Regions from separate parts of the Homo sapiens genome. Here regions 2, 3, 4 and 5 are each linked to region 1. The links are contacts of gene promoters, found by promoter capture Hi-C in blood cells and fetal thymus (Javierre and others, 2016). All regions are on one chromosome and are shown on one strand. The core of a region is centred on a gene start or on the middle of the fragment in contact, and the rest is flanking DNA. Distances in the headings are between cores, read along the strand shown. Region 1 holds the start of CDKN1B (cyclin dependent kinase inhibitor 1B). Region 2 holds the start of CLEC2B (C-type lectin domain family 2 member B). Region 3 overlaps KLRC4-KLRK1 (KLRC4-KLRK1 readthrough). Region 4 overlaps ARHGDIB (Rho GDP dissociation inhibitor beta). Region 5 holds the start of MAGOHB (mago homolog B, exon junction complex subunit).

Region 1 (2,766 bases), core at 267-2,766:
CAGCTGTCACATTCTGGAGCGTATGAGATGAGGTAGGCACACAAAGTGGACAAGATGTGGCTAAGAAAACAAGCTACACATCAAGCTCATCTGTAGCATAGGTGCTTAAGAAAACTTTGCTGCTGTGTAATATTAGAACGGAAGGTTGGTTTCCAGTAAAATGCATTAACTTTGGCTCAAACCAAGATGATGGGTACCGGGCATGGGGGTGGGGAGGCAGTTGAAGATCCACTGAGCTTTGTCTCAGGGCAGCCCTGCTCATCGTCCTACTTTACCTTCCACCACGGTGCTCAAGCCCACACTGAGAGAGAAATTTCCAGCTGCAAAAGGGAGAAGAGAAACGCTGGAATACTAGTATCGGACGTTAGGACATGGTTGTGGTGTTTTAAAAATCATTTCATCATCTGGAGTTTGACCCCGAGGGGAGTATTTTCACCCTTCAGCCCTCTGAAAGCATTCACTAGCATCTGAATATTGTTCTGAGTTTGTTGGAGCAGTGAAATCTGGTGAGAGAGAAGGGTGGAGGAAGGAAGGAGCTGTTGTATTTGGCGGCTGGACTCAGGTAGAGGAAACTGCTACAATCCCGGGAAAGAACAGAAAAGTAGAAAGGGACGAGTTCCCACACGCAGCCAATGTCCATGGCCTTAACTGTGCTTGGGAAGGAAGATCCTGGGCCAGGGGTGTACCCTCGTTTTTCAAAACTAAACGTGTCTGAGACAGCTACAAAGTTTATTAAGGGACTTGAGAGACTAGAGTTTTTTGTTTTTTTTTTTTAATCTTGAGTTCCTTTCTTATTTTCATTGAGGGAGAGCTTGAGTTCATGATAAGTGCCGCGTCTACTCCTGGCTAATTTCTAAAAGAAAGACGTTCGCTTTGGCTTCTTCCCTAGGCCCCCAGCCTCCCCAGGGATGGCAGAAACTTCTGGGTTAAGGCTGAGCGAACCATTGCCCACTGCCTCCACCAGCCCCCAGCAAAGGCACGCCGGCGGGGGGGCGCCCAGCCCCCCCAGCAAACGCTCCGCGGCCTCCCCCGCAGACCACGAGGTGGGGGCCGCTGGGGAGGGCCGAGCTGGGGGCAGCTCGCCACCCCGGCTCCTAGCGAGCTGCCGGCGACCTTCGCGGTCCTCTGGTCCAGGTCCCGGCTTCCCGGGCGAGGAGCGGGAGGGAGGTCGGGGCTTAGGCGCCGCGGCGAACCCGCCAACGCAGCGCCGGGCCCCGAACCTCAGGCCCCGCCCCAGGTTCCCGGCCGTTTGGCTAGTTTGTTTGTCTTAATTTTAATTTCTCCGAGGCCAGCCAGAGCAGGTTTGTTGGCAGCAGTACCCCTCCAGCAGTCACGCGACCAGCCAATCTCCCGGCGGCGCTCGGGGAGGCGGCGCGCTCGGGAACGAGGGGAGGTGGCGGAACCGCGCCGGGGCCACCTTAAGGCCGCGCTCGCCAGCCTCGGCGGGGCGGCTCCCGCCGCCGCAACCAATGGATCTCCTCCTCTGTTTAAATAGACTCGCCGTGTCAATCATTTTCTTCTTCGTCAGCCTCCCTTCCACCGCCATATTGGGCCACTAAAAAAAGGGGGCTCGTCTTTTCGGGGTGTTTTTCTCCCCCTCCCCTGTCCCCGCTTGCTCACGGCTCTGCGACTCCGACGCCGGCAAGGTTTGGAGAGCGGCTGGGTTCGCGGGACCCGCGGGCTTGCACCCGCCCAGACTCGGACGGGCTTTGCCACCCTCTCCGCTTGCCTGGTCCCCTCTCCTCTCCGCCCTCCCGCTCGCCAGTCCATTTGATCAGCGGAGACTCGGCGGCCGGGCCGGGGCTTCCCCGCAGCCCCTGCGCGCTCCTAGAGCTCGGGCCGTGGCTCGTCGGGGTCTGTGTCTTTTGGCTCCGAGGGCAGTCGCTGGGCTTCCGAGAGGGGTTCGGGCTGCGTAGGGGCGCTTTGTTTTGTTCGGTTTTGTTTTTTTGAGAGTGCGAGAGAGGCGGTCGTGCAGACCCGGGAGAAAGATGTCAAACGTGCGAGTGTCTAACGGGAGCCCTAGCCTGGAGCGGATGGACGCCAGGCAGGCGGAGCACCCCAAGCCCTCGGCCTGCAGGAACCTCTTCGGCCCGGTGGACCACGAAGAGTTAACCCGGGACTTGGAGAAGCACTGCAGAGACATGGAAGAGGCGAGCCAGCGCAAGTGGAATTTCGATTTTCAGAATCACAAACCCCTAGAGGGCAAGTACGAGTGGCAAGAGGTGGAGAAGGGCAGCTTGCCCGAGTTCTACTACAGACCCCCGCGGCCCCCCAAAGGTGCCTGCAAGGTGCCGGCGCAGGAGAGCCAGGATGTCAGCGGGAGCCGCCCGGCGGCGCCTTTAATTGGGGCTCCGGCTAACTCTGAGGACACGCATTTGGTGGACCCAAAGACTGATCCGTCGGACAGCCAGACGGGGTTAGCGGAGCAATGCGCAGGAATAAGGAAGCGACCTGCAACCGACGGTAATGACCCTTTCCCAACCATAGAATGTGTTTGGGGCCCCGCTTTGCCTGCTGGAGGGTGTTAACCTTAGCTTGCTTTTCGGCGTATTCTGATTTAGCTTTGGGAGAGCTAACTTTATTGGTCTTAGGTGTTCAGTGCTACCTGGCCCACTGCTTGTCTGTTTGTGACTTTTAAGTCAGAAACTGGAGATGGTAAGATCCGATAATTTCCCTAACTTAATACATCGCGGTCCCTCTCACTAGCAACTCCTAGGTATGTGACAAAGTTGGGATGTTTATCAACGGTCCGCCTCCTGGCTAGGG
Region 2 (2,766 bases), core at 1-2,500, 2.8 Mb before region 1:
ATACTGAATATATTATTCAGTAACTTTTAAAATATATTCATATGTAATATGATATATAATATTGTATTATATAATGTATTTATATACAAATGTATAAATTTATACAATTGATTGAAAGTAGAAAATAACACTGGTTTTACTAGTGGCTGGAAGGCCTTCTTAAAACTTTTGATTAAAATGATATTTTATGCTACCATCAAATATTGATCTCATTCCCCGCAAACCTGTTTTATCTAACTTTAGGCAGAATTATAAAACCGGTTAAAATACGGGAGGAAGGATAAAGTGTGCATTCTATTGTACCACAGCAATAATTTTTTTGACCGTAGCATACGCTGGTAGGTTGACATTTAGTTAAACGGGAAATGCTTAAAGCTCATCACAGTCCCTAAATCTCTAAATCATAGATCGTTGTATTGAATGCATTTAGTTTCAGCCTTTTCTCTTTCAAATATTTTGACATAAATAAACCCTGTTGAAATCTCAAAGATGTAGCTTGGATCTTATATATTCCGAACTTGCTATTTAATAAATCCAATGTTACCAGGTTGTTTCATAGTGTATTTTTTAGAACATTTTCTTTCCTTATCCTTCTTAGGGTTGGTAAAGACATCTCCATGGATATCGGAGTACTAGCAATTCCTTAGTAAGAGTAGGAAAGGGATATATTCTTTCCGTTAAGTACTCCTAAAGCCCGGAGTATCTTTACACCATCCAATAAAGCAATCTTTAAAAATATTAGAACTATTGGCTAAATTTATCATATTATGTATGCATTCTGAGAACTGTATGAGTATCTGGATCATATCTATCATCTTCTCAAGTATTTGTTTTATAAAATACTTAGTAAAAATGAAACTAAATCTTGAGCAGTTTTAAGTCATGGTTAATCCTTCTCCATTGTAATTCAAATAATGTAAAGTAAGTCTGAATTTATTAGGACAAAACAGTCATATGCAAATCTCAATCTTGTTATAAGAAGGAATTTTCTAGTTTCACAAAAGAAACCACAAAATTTAATTCTTTTCTCGAAGGCTTTAACATTCTGCATCACAATTTCAATAAATAACGGTCATTCTAAACAAACAAAAATGTTCTTACCGTGCTTCTTTTAATCAGCGTTTTGATTTTCTGCTAGCAGCTTTGTGTCATGTCTTGCAGAAACTCTCTTCAAAGTTGTAACTTTATTTAACTTTAATATAAAAATGTTACTCTTGTTTTTACAGCACAGCTCCAAACTAGAGGTATACCACTTTTGAAGAGTAACTCAAAGTATAAATAGCATTTTGCAAACTGGAAGTAACCATGTGACTATCTATTAGTCATACTGTTGTTTATTACAATTTTCTTCTCGTCAAAAAAGAAAGCTTGCCAAGGAGGAAGGAAGTTTGTGATATAACAATTTAAAGCTGAAGAATAAACACATATTTTCTTACTTTCTCAACTGGGATTCTCATCTGAACCACAGAACACGAAATTGCTCAAGTGGCTGTTTTTCTGATTCATCCAGGAGTGGTACTTAACCACGTATCCTTCCAGAACTGTAGGAGAGGCTGATACTAATTAATTCAACAGCATTCTTTAGGACATTACTGCTTTCTTATCCTGTGTTAAGAAAGATCACCTTAAAAGCGATAGAATCAAAGAAAAAGCAATGGTTTAAACTTTGGCTACTGAAAGAAAAACAAAAACTATTATCTCTCTCTCAAAGACAAATGCGTGCAAAGTCACACGTGTGGGTGTGAGCACACACACAAACACACACAAAGACACACAGAGGGAAAAAAGAAAACGAAAGTAACAAAGTGCCCAGAACGTTATCATCAGCATACAAGATGACACCATTATGCTTTTGCTAAGTTACCAGGCCACAATTTTGTCTTCAAATCTGCTCTAATCAGTTTCCCAGTGATTTTGTATTACCCCTCAACAAATATATTAGGGAGGAAACTGAGGAGAAGAAGCCAGTGTCCCGCAAGCGGCTTCGGGATTAACACTGCATTTGTTCTGAGAGAGAAACTTGAAGAGGAAAAGCAAATGAGAATAGAGAAGAAACTGTAGTACAAAGGAATTAAAACAAAGAAAATATGAAGAGAATAAGAAATACAGGTTTAATCATTTCTGGGCAGAAGGAAAGGACAGATAACAAAATTGCTCTTTTCATTTTTGGACAGAAAAAAAAGACAGAAAATTCATGAGGAAATGAATATATTCTACCTTTGTTGTTAACAAAAGATTGTATCCAAAGAACTATTAGAAAAGCATGTATAGAAAAATATAGAGATTACTCAAGTATGGTTGAGTGAAATTTAGTTTTGTTCCAAAAAGGAAAACAGTCAAGATACAACAGTTAAGATATAAAACATTTTCAACACAGGGAAATGTTCCCCGCTGTTGCTTTGCAGTTCATCCTCACCCCTGAAGCCAGGCAGCAGCCAACTTACTGTCAATAAACATGAGCTTTGCTGGTTTTAGAAATTCCTGTTAAGCAGAATGATACAGTTGGCAATTCTTGTAAGTCTGATGTCTTTCACTGAGCATAATGTTTTTGAGTTTTATCCATGTTTTTGCACAGATCAGCAGTTAATTTCTTTTTATTACTGAGTAGTATTTCATTGTACAGACATAAAATATTTTTATCTATTTTATAATAAAATGTATCCATTATGACATTGAGCTTTTTCCACTTCTTGGATATCATAAGGTCAAAATAAACATTTATGCAAAAGTTTTTCTATTGACACGTTTTTTAATCTTTTGAAGAAA
Region 3 (2,766 bases), core at 71-2,570, 2.3 Mb before region 1:
TAATATAGACCTAATGAACCTAACTAAATGTACAGAACATTTCATCCAACTGCTGCAAAATACACATTCTTCTTATCAGCACATGGAACATTCATCAGGACAGACCATATGCTAGGTGATAAGTCTCAAAACATTTCCAAAAGTCAATATTATATCAAGTAAATTTTCTGACAACAATGGAATAAAACTAGAAATTGATAACGAGGAACTTTGGAAACTGCACAGATACATGAAAATTAAACAACATGCCTTTGAACAAATAAACAAATTCAGTAAAGTTTCAGGATCAAAAATCTGCATACAAAAATCAGTAGTGTTTCTATACACCAATAACAAACTGGATGAAAAAGAAATCAAGAAGTCAATTCCATTTGTAATACCTACAAATAATAAAATACCCTGGAATAAATTTAATCACACAAGTGAAAGACCTCTACAATGAAAACTGTAAAATACTGATGAATGAAACCAAAGAGGATGCAAAAAAATGGAAAGACATCTCATGTTCATAGACAGAAAGAATATTGTTAAAGTAATCATATGACTCAAAGCAATCTACAGATTCAGTGCAATTCCTAACACGATACCAGTAACATTCTCTACAGAAATAGAAAAATATCTTAAAATTTATATGGTACCACAAAAGACTGAATAGCCAAAGCAATCTTGAACAAAAATGAAGAAAACTGGTGGCATCACGTTACCTGACTTCAATATATACGACAAAACTACAACAACCAAAACAGTATGGCATTGATATAAAAATAGACACCTAGACCAATAAAACAGAATAGACAACCCAGGAATAAATCCATGTATTATAGCCAACTGATTTTTCCAGAAAGTCACCAATAACATACACTGGGAAAGGAGAGCCTCTTCAATAAATGAAGCTGAAAAAACTGGATATCCACATAGAGGAATGAAATTAGACCCTCATCTCACACCATATACAAAAATCAACTCAAAATGGATTAATGACTTAAATATAAGAACTGAATCTATAACACTACTAGAAGAGATAAGAGAAACACCACAGGACATTAGTCTAGGCAAAGATTTTATGGGTAAGAATTCAAAAGTACAGGCAACAAAAGCAAAAAGAAACAAATGAGATTGTATCAAACTAACACACTTCTCTACTGCATAGGAAACAATTGACAGAGTGAAGAGACAACTTGTAGAATAAGAGAAAATACTCGCAAACTATTCCTCTAACAAGAGACCAATATCCAGAATATACAAGGAATTCAAACAACTCAACAGCAACAACAAAAACTGATTTGAAAATGAGCAAAGGATCTGAATAGATATTTCTGAGAAGATATACAAATAGCCACAGATATATTTTTTGAAATTCAACATCATTCATCATCAAGAAGATGAAAATCAAAACCACAATGAATATCATCTCACCCTAGTTAGAATAGCTATTATTTAAAAAGACAAAAAATAACAAATGACAGTGAGGATGCAGGGAAAGGCTAATGTTTATACAATTTTGGTGGGAATGTAAATTAGTATAGCCATTATGGAAACAGTATGGAGGTCCCTTAAAAAACTAAAAATATAACTACCATATGACTCAGCAATCTGGGTCTTTCTCCAATGGAAAGGAAATCAGTATATTGAAGTAACGTCTGCACCCCCATGTTTATTGCAGCATTATTCACAATAGCCAAGATATGGAATTAACCTGTGTCCATTAACAGATAAATAGCTAAGCACACACAGACACACACACACACACACACACACACACAGAGGAATACCATTCAGTCATAAAAAAAAGAATGAAAAGAATGAAATCCTATTATTTGCACCAACATGGATGAGTCAGAAGTACATAATGTTACGTAGAGTAAATCAGGCATGGAAAGATAAATACCACATGTTCTCACTCATATGTAGGAGATACAAACTTTTAGCTCACAGAAGTAGAGAGTAGAATTGTGGTTATTTAAGGCTAGAAAGAATAGGGGGGAGGAGAAGATTGGGAGAGGTTGGTTAATGAATACAAAATTACAGCTACATGCGGGATTTTTCTAGTGTTCTATAGCACTGTAGGGAGAGTACTGTTAAGAGTAATTTATTGTATATTTTCAGATAGCTAGAAGAGAAGGTTTTGAATGTTCCCAACACAAAGAAGTGATAAATGTTGAGGTGATGGGTGTGCTAATTACCTTGATTTGGTCATTAGACATTGTATAGTTGAATGGAAATATCACTGTATCCCATAAATATGTATAATTATTACATGCCAACTAAAAATAAACAAAAATTACCGTTCCCCTTAACTACATATTAAAAATACATTTTAAAGAAACTATAATACACAAAATATCCTATGAATTTTTTTTTTTTTTTTACCTAAGACAATATCCTGGTGATTAGTCCTCATGGCGTATAAGGATACCAAATTTATAAATAGCTGCATTGTATTTCACTGACAACTCTGGACAGATCTAATTTTTGACGGACTGTCAATTTTTTTTTCCAGTGGATATTTAAATTGTTTCTTAGGTCTTGCTATGAGAAATAATGATACATTTCATACCCATCTGTGCATATTTTTGAGTCTCTCTCTGGGATAAATTCCCACAATGATAATTGTTGAGGGAAAGGGCATGTGTGTTTTAAATTTTGGTAACAATTGAATATTTTAGTCCAAAAAGGGATTTTTACATATAGCACTTTGCATTCCTTAAATTAATTCTTGTAAAGAGATGCTATTTGTTAATAATTTGTTTCTTAGTTTTTAATAAA
Region 4 (2,766 bases), core at 194-2,693, 2.2 Mb after region 1:
CAGTTTTATCACCACTAAAATGGGGATATTCTTTTTTACGGGGTTGAAAGATTGGAGAAAACACATGAAAAATTATAGGACTATACTGGTCAAGAATAGATGTTCCGTGAATATTTGTTCCCTTCCTCTTCTTCCTTCCCTGCCCCAGTGTGGTCTGCTTTGTTGCAAAGCTTCACTGAAGCTAGGTAACTGTTTCCACACCAAATACTTTCCCCTGGATGGGAGCTATGTCCCCACTCCTTCCTCCTTAAAAATAGATTTTTGTCTTTGAGGAGTATTAAAGAGATAAGAAGTTCTGGGGAATTGAAAGGATTGTTTAAAAACTGAATCAACCTTAAAATGAGACTATATTATATTTCTTTTAAAAACTTTCATGTAAACAATTTAATTTTAGGTTTTATTTATTGCTCCCTGTCTTCATTGAAGCCAGAGGTCACTCTGCGAATGATGAGAAATGTCAGTGAACACAGGCACAGCTAATGAAGAGAATTCCCTCTGGCTCTGGAGCAAAATACCACAGAGACTTAACTCACGGCCCAAAGCTGGATCTGCAAAATTGTGCTGGATTATGCATCTAGACACACAGGCCATGGATATTAATGTATTAGGTAGAAGAGATAGCGATGAGAGAGAGAGAAGGAAGAGGGGAAAGAGGGAGAGAGAAAGAGGAGAGAGAGAGGAGGGAGAAGGGAGAAAGAGAGAGAGGGAAGAGAGAGAGAAAAGTGGAAATACCAGAAGTAGGGGATTTCTATCAGAGAAGTTCCTATGTGAGCATCAGCATTCTCTGTAACTCCTGCTACCTCCACTTTCCCTGCTGACTAGGATATGTCTGACTTCCCCCAAATCGGGCTGTGGGTCTAGTGCAGGTCTGGAGAGTCAGGCCATCTCTAAAACACTGTTGACATTTCAGAGCTAGTCAAGGATTTGAATGTGCTGTGCTGCTTGCCTGGCAATTTGGTGTATTACGGGATTGCAAATTTGTCTCTCAGGACACCAGAAGCCTTCTTGGTTCGGGATTCCACCCTCTCCCCACCGCCCCTGTCCCTGGTGACATGGAGGAATCCATACTCCCCACTTTGCGGTGCTGCTTTCTACCACCTCAGCCCCATGAAGGACTACGAAAACTTCAAAACTGGATGAGAAAAACCAAAGACAAGATTATTTTGTAAGAGACAATAAATATTGTAATCAATCCAGAGAAGGGCACAAATTACTAGAAACGTAATTTCTTACCATTTGTCTTTGTGAGAGAAACAATTTATTATTTCTTGCCTGTGCATTTTTTAGTGTGTTTTTCTAACCCACATTCATATGCACAAAGAGAGAGAACTCAAAGAGATCCCGTGAGCTTTGCTGAGTGCCCAACGTGTGAAGTCATGCCACCAAGTACCTTCACAAATATTATTTTAAATAATTCTCAAAGAAAACTGTGCATTAAGGAAGCCATTGCCTTCAGTATCTCAATATATTCACAAAAGTTTTAAATTAGCATGAAAAGTTAGACAGAATTGAGAGAGAATTTTTTTTATGACCGTTTGTGCTAAGATTATTAGGCTCTTTAAGAAAGCCCAAGTGAATTTTTACCAGCGGTAAAATTCACTCTTTGGCTGTGGACACCAGAGAGTAACACAACACAGGATGATTCAGGATGTGCTTATTGCACAGATAAATGTTGCTGACGTTTCAGGGGCAACATGAGACTCATCTCTGGGTATGCCAGTGTAGCCTTGAATACAGGATCCCGGGCAGCAATAACACAAACCAGGAATAAGAACTCTCAAAATATGGAATTGGAGAAAATTTCTTCCATGTGATTCTTCCTAAAGAATGTGGGAGATCACCTGAGCCTCAGGAGGTCGAGGCTGCAGTGAGCTGCGTTCACGCCCCTGCACTTCAGCTCGGGTGACAGAGTGAGACTTGTCTCAAAAAAATAATAATAGGCCATGCATGGTGGCTCACGCCTTTAATCCCAGGACTTTGGGAGGCCAAGGCAGGCGGATTGCTTGAGCCCAGGAATTCAAGACCAGCCCTGGCAACATGGAGAAACCCCGTCTCTACTAAAAATGGTAAAATTAGCCAGCGTGGTGATGCGCGCCTATAGTCCCAGCTACTCGGGAGGTTGAGGCGGGAGGATCACGTGAGCCTCCTGAGTAGGTAGGACCACAGGCACGCACCACCATGCCCTGTGAATTGCAATTCAGAGGCATTGTGGCTATTGATCCTTTTTGTATCAGTATGTAATTTTAGTCAAATTATTGAACACTTCTGCATTCTTCTCAGGAACAAAATTTGAAAGTTTTTATCACCAGGCCTGACACATAGAAGGCACTCAATGAATGTTGGTTCTCCTTTTCTATCTGCATAATTTCGACTCCCCAGGGCTTCTCTTTTCCTGCTAGCTGATGTTTGTCATGTACTGTGCTCTCCCAAATCAGCTCAGACCCGTATCTTTCCCTCAGAATGACTTTGTGGTGCTGAGTGTCTACTGAAAACAGAACCTTAATGTTGCTCAGAGCTAACTTCCCTAGGGGACAAACTCATGCTCTCCAAAGCAAGGAAGGACCAAATTCCAGTCGAGGCCTGAAAAATGCTTGCCAGTTTCTGTTCAGTGACAGCATAGTTAGTCCTCAGGTTTTGCATCTGTGAAGCATGGATGGAGAAAGAACTGTCTCTTAGAATTTCACACATCTCACAAAAGAGTAAGATGCTCTTGTTACTAAGCTTGTGCTATATCTGCTTTGGGAGGGAATATATTCTTACAAATTA
Region 5 (2,766 bases), core at 1-2,500, 2.1 Mb before region 1:
TTGTTAACACGTTGGGCTCCTCCCCTTCAAAGAAAACACACAGCCTAAATGAAAAAAAGGTACTGGTCACCACAAGATTTTATTCATCCACTGGACCACCCGCTGGTGGGGGTGTTTTCAAAAAAGTGCTAGCATTTTCAATCAGGGCGACGATCTAGAGTCCCTTCTGGTGCACTGTTACAGAATTCTGATTACTGTAGGTTCAACTTTTCAGTTTGTGACAGGATTAGCTTTAATTTATTGCAATTAATTCTCTTTCATTTATAAAACCAACTTATGCCTCCTCTATTCTTAAGCTCCTATTTCCTTCGAGGGAAGCAGTGGCCTCCGCCGCCTGTACCCTCCACACCACCCGGCCTCTCGGTCTCGCTCCCCTTTCCCAGCACCGCGTGCCGTGGGCCTCTTCTCACCGTCCGGCCGAAATTCGAACTCCAGAAACTCGTGCCCAAACTTGCCCTTGTGCCCTACGTAGTAGCGCAGGTAGAAATCGCTAGCCACAGCCATTTTTGTACCCGGGAAGCCCGCCGAAAACGCAGCCAACGTGTCCCCCGGCGCCTTGCAGTGACGTCATCGCGCGGAATAAGTGCGTCACCACAGGCGCTTCTCTTCCTCCTGCAGTGCAGCCCTAGACTAAAGCGTGAAAGCCGAGTATCGCGTGAGAGTCCGGAGGCGCTGAAGGGAGGGTCGCAGCGCCGTGACTTTCGCTTTACTAGGAATGGAGGCACATTGTTTTCAAAATAAAGATTACATTATACTAGCAAAGATTAGAAATGTGAGCATATGATAGTCTTTTTTATGGACTTAGAGCTAAAGGTTTGCAAGTCACTTTTACTTTTCTGGTCTCCCAATCCTTGCGGCGTTTGTGAGGTGGGTGTGGCTCTATGCCCCCTTTAACTGTGAGCTAAATAAAGATAAAGCTTAGAATCGAAATGGCAGACCGGGAATATAAACTATTTTTCTTACTTAATTTCTAACAGGGTGCTTTCCCTTTGGATAGCGATTGGTAGTTACCCGGGACCTCTAAGCCTATAATAATAGAGACAAAGTCAAAGGAATCCAACTCTTAAAACCCTCACACCCCCCACACCTGAAAAACCCTGACAGTCACCGTGCTTTTTTTAACAGCAGAACTTCTAAGGTTCTTAATTCATTCAATAAGGGTTAACTTTTAGTAGCCTGTGAAGTTTTGGCAATTTGACTTACGATACAATAATGGTTTAGCCCATTATTGTTTCTCGCCAGATAGAATTAAATTGGGGGAATGAAAGAATGCTCCAGTGTGGCGTAGTTTTTAAGGTAAGGGAAAGACTTTTACACAAAGTTTCCTTTTCAGATATTATTGATCACCCTTTTGTTATCAACACACAGAGTAATCCTATCTGTCGGTTGACAACCTTCAGTGATTTTTAGTAGAAAGTGGTGGAGAGAAGACCTGGGATTCAATCCCAACACTTAACAGCTAACTAACCTCGGGCAAGTGACTATCTCTAAGCCTGTTTGTTCATCAGCCTAATGCATATACAGCAATCTACATTGCCAAGCTCACAGAATTCTTGAGAGATCTAATGAGATAATATGTAAAATAAGCTTTAAATTTTATAAAACATTAGTTTTAACAAACATTTCCTATGTGACAGTTTGAAACTAGAAATAAGCCATTTGATCTGGTAGTCTAGAAAAGAAAGCAAACACGTAAGGCGAATACCAGCACAAGGGAGCAATTGCTATAATTAAGAATATATGTGCCATCCTGGCCAGCATGGTGAAACCCCGTCTCTATTAAAAATACAAAAAAATTAGCTGGGCGTGGTGGCGCGTGCCTGTAATACCAGATACGCGGGAGGCTGAGGCAGGAGAATTGCTTGAACCCTGGAGGCAGAGGTTTCAGTGAGCTGAGATCGTGCCACTGCATTCCAGCCTGGGCAACAAGAGCGAAACTCTGTCTCAAAAAAAAAAAAAAAAAAAAAAGAAAAAGAAAAGAAAGCCTATATGTGGCCGGGCGCAGTGGCTCATGCCTGTAATCCCAGCACTTTGGGAGGCCAAAGGGGGCAAATCACCCGAGGTCAGGAGTTCAAGACCAGCCTGGCCAACATGGCAAAACCTTGTCTTTACTAAAAATACAAAAATTAGCCAGGTTTGGTGGCACGTGCCTGTAATCCTAGCTACTCAGGAGGCTGAGGCAGGAGAATCGCTTGAACCCGAGAGGCGGAGATCGCGCAGTTGCACTCCAGCCTGGGTGACAAGAGCGAAACTTCGTCTAAAAAAAAAAAAGTGTGTAAAACATGCCGGTAGTACAGCAGAGGAAGCAAGAGCATTCTATTGCAGAGTAGGGAAATTTGAAAAAAGAGTATTGGAAAAGGCTTGTCAACGGAAGTGTTTGAATTGGACCTTGAGAAGTAAGTTCTGTGTATGTTCAGTGGGATGAAAAAGCATTCCAGGCAGAAAATGACCCGAGCAAAGACAGTGGTGTGAAAATTCATGTTTGGGGAACACTAAGAAATTCGGTATAGCTAGAGCATAAGGTTCAAGTAGAATGACTAAAAAGGCAAATTGGGCCACGTTTCCTTGAGTCCATATTAGTAGTTATATAACTATTAATATAGAAAAATGAATCAGTCCCTACAATGGGCCACCATTTTGGAAAGTACGTAAGAAACAGGAAGCACCATGTTTTACCACTAGGGTGACTAGCCGTTCCAGTTTGACCAGGACTGTGGAGTTTCCTGGGAAATGGGACTTTCCATACCTGGAAACACCCAGGCAAAC

The links. Contacts are between HindIII fragments. The CHiCAGO score rates a contact against its expected background, and 5 or more counts as called.
Region 2: a contact is called between the fragment with the promoter of CLEC2B here and the fragment with the promoter of CDKN1B in region 1, in 2 of 17 cell types (non-activated CD4 T cells and total CD4 T cells). The highest score is 8.8, in non-activated CD4 T cells.
Region 3: a fragment that was not itself captured here is called in contact with the fragment with the promoter of CDKN1B in region 1 in 1 of 17 cell types (total CD8 T cells); the score reaches 5.7 in total CD8 T cells.
Region 4: a fragment that was not itself captured here is called in contact with the fragment with the promoter of CDKN1B in region 1 in 2 of 17 cell types (non-activated CD4 T cells and naive CD8 T cells); the score reaches 8.9 in non-activated CD4 T cells.
Region 5: a contact is called between a fragment that was not itself captured here and the fragment with the promoter of CDKN1B in region 1, in 1 of 17 cell types (naive CD8 T cells). The highest score is 5.1, in naive CD8 T cells.

What each region holds. Positions count from the first base shown.
Region 1 is chr12:12,715,852-12,718,617 of GRCh38, forward strand. CDKN1B (cyclin dependent kinase inhibitor 1B) reads left to right here and starts at 1,517. Exons shown (of 3, transcript NM_004064.5): 1 at 1,517-2,463. The coding sequence starts at 1,989. It also overlaps a transcript of GPR19 not described here. RefSeq lists silencers at 901-1,470, 1,895-2,083 and enhancers at 1,491-1,540, 1,621-1,720. The HindIII fragment of the contact is 7,251 bases long and covers 1-2,766 here.
Region 2 is chr12:9,868,104-9,870,869 of GRCh38, forward strand. It overlaps CLEC2B (C-type lectin domain family 2 member B), which reads right to left and starts at 1,251. Exons shown (of 5, transcript NM_005127.3): 1 at 1,102-1,251. The HindIII fragment of the contact is 5,556 bases long and covers 1-1,365 here.
Region 3 is chr12:10,383,634-10,386,399 of GRCh38, forward strand. All of the region lies in intron 8 of KLRC4-KLRK1 (KLRC4-KLRK1 readthrough), which reads right to left. All of the region lies in intron 3 of KLRK1 (killer cell lectin like receptor K1), which reads right to left. The region is part of intron 3 of KLRK1-AS1 (KLRK1 antisense RNA 1); the gene reads left to right. Among named protein-coding and RNA genes, the nearest start is that of KLRK1, 5.0 kb to the right of the region's middle. The HindIII fragment of the contact is 5,161 bases long and covers 1-2,766 here.
Region 4 is chr12:14,957,198-14,959,963 of GRCh38, forward strand. All of the region lies in intron 1 of ARHGDIB (Rho GDP dissociation inhibitor beta), which reads right to left. Among named protein-coding and RNA genes, the nearest start is that of ARHGDIB, 3.0 kb to the right of the region's middle. RefSeq lists an enhancer at 2,747-2,766. The HindIII fragment of the contact is 2,551 bases long and covers 169-2,719 here.
Region 5 is chr12:10,613,029-10,615,794 of GRCh38, forward strand. MAGOHB (mago homolog B, exon junction complex subunit) reads right to left here and starts at 581. Exons shown (of 5, transcript NM_018048.5): 1 at 411-581. The coding sequence starts at 504. RefSeq lists enhancers at 1-517, 302-701, 518-1,395. The HindIII fragment of the contact is 670 bases long and covers 916-1,585 here.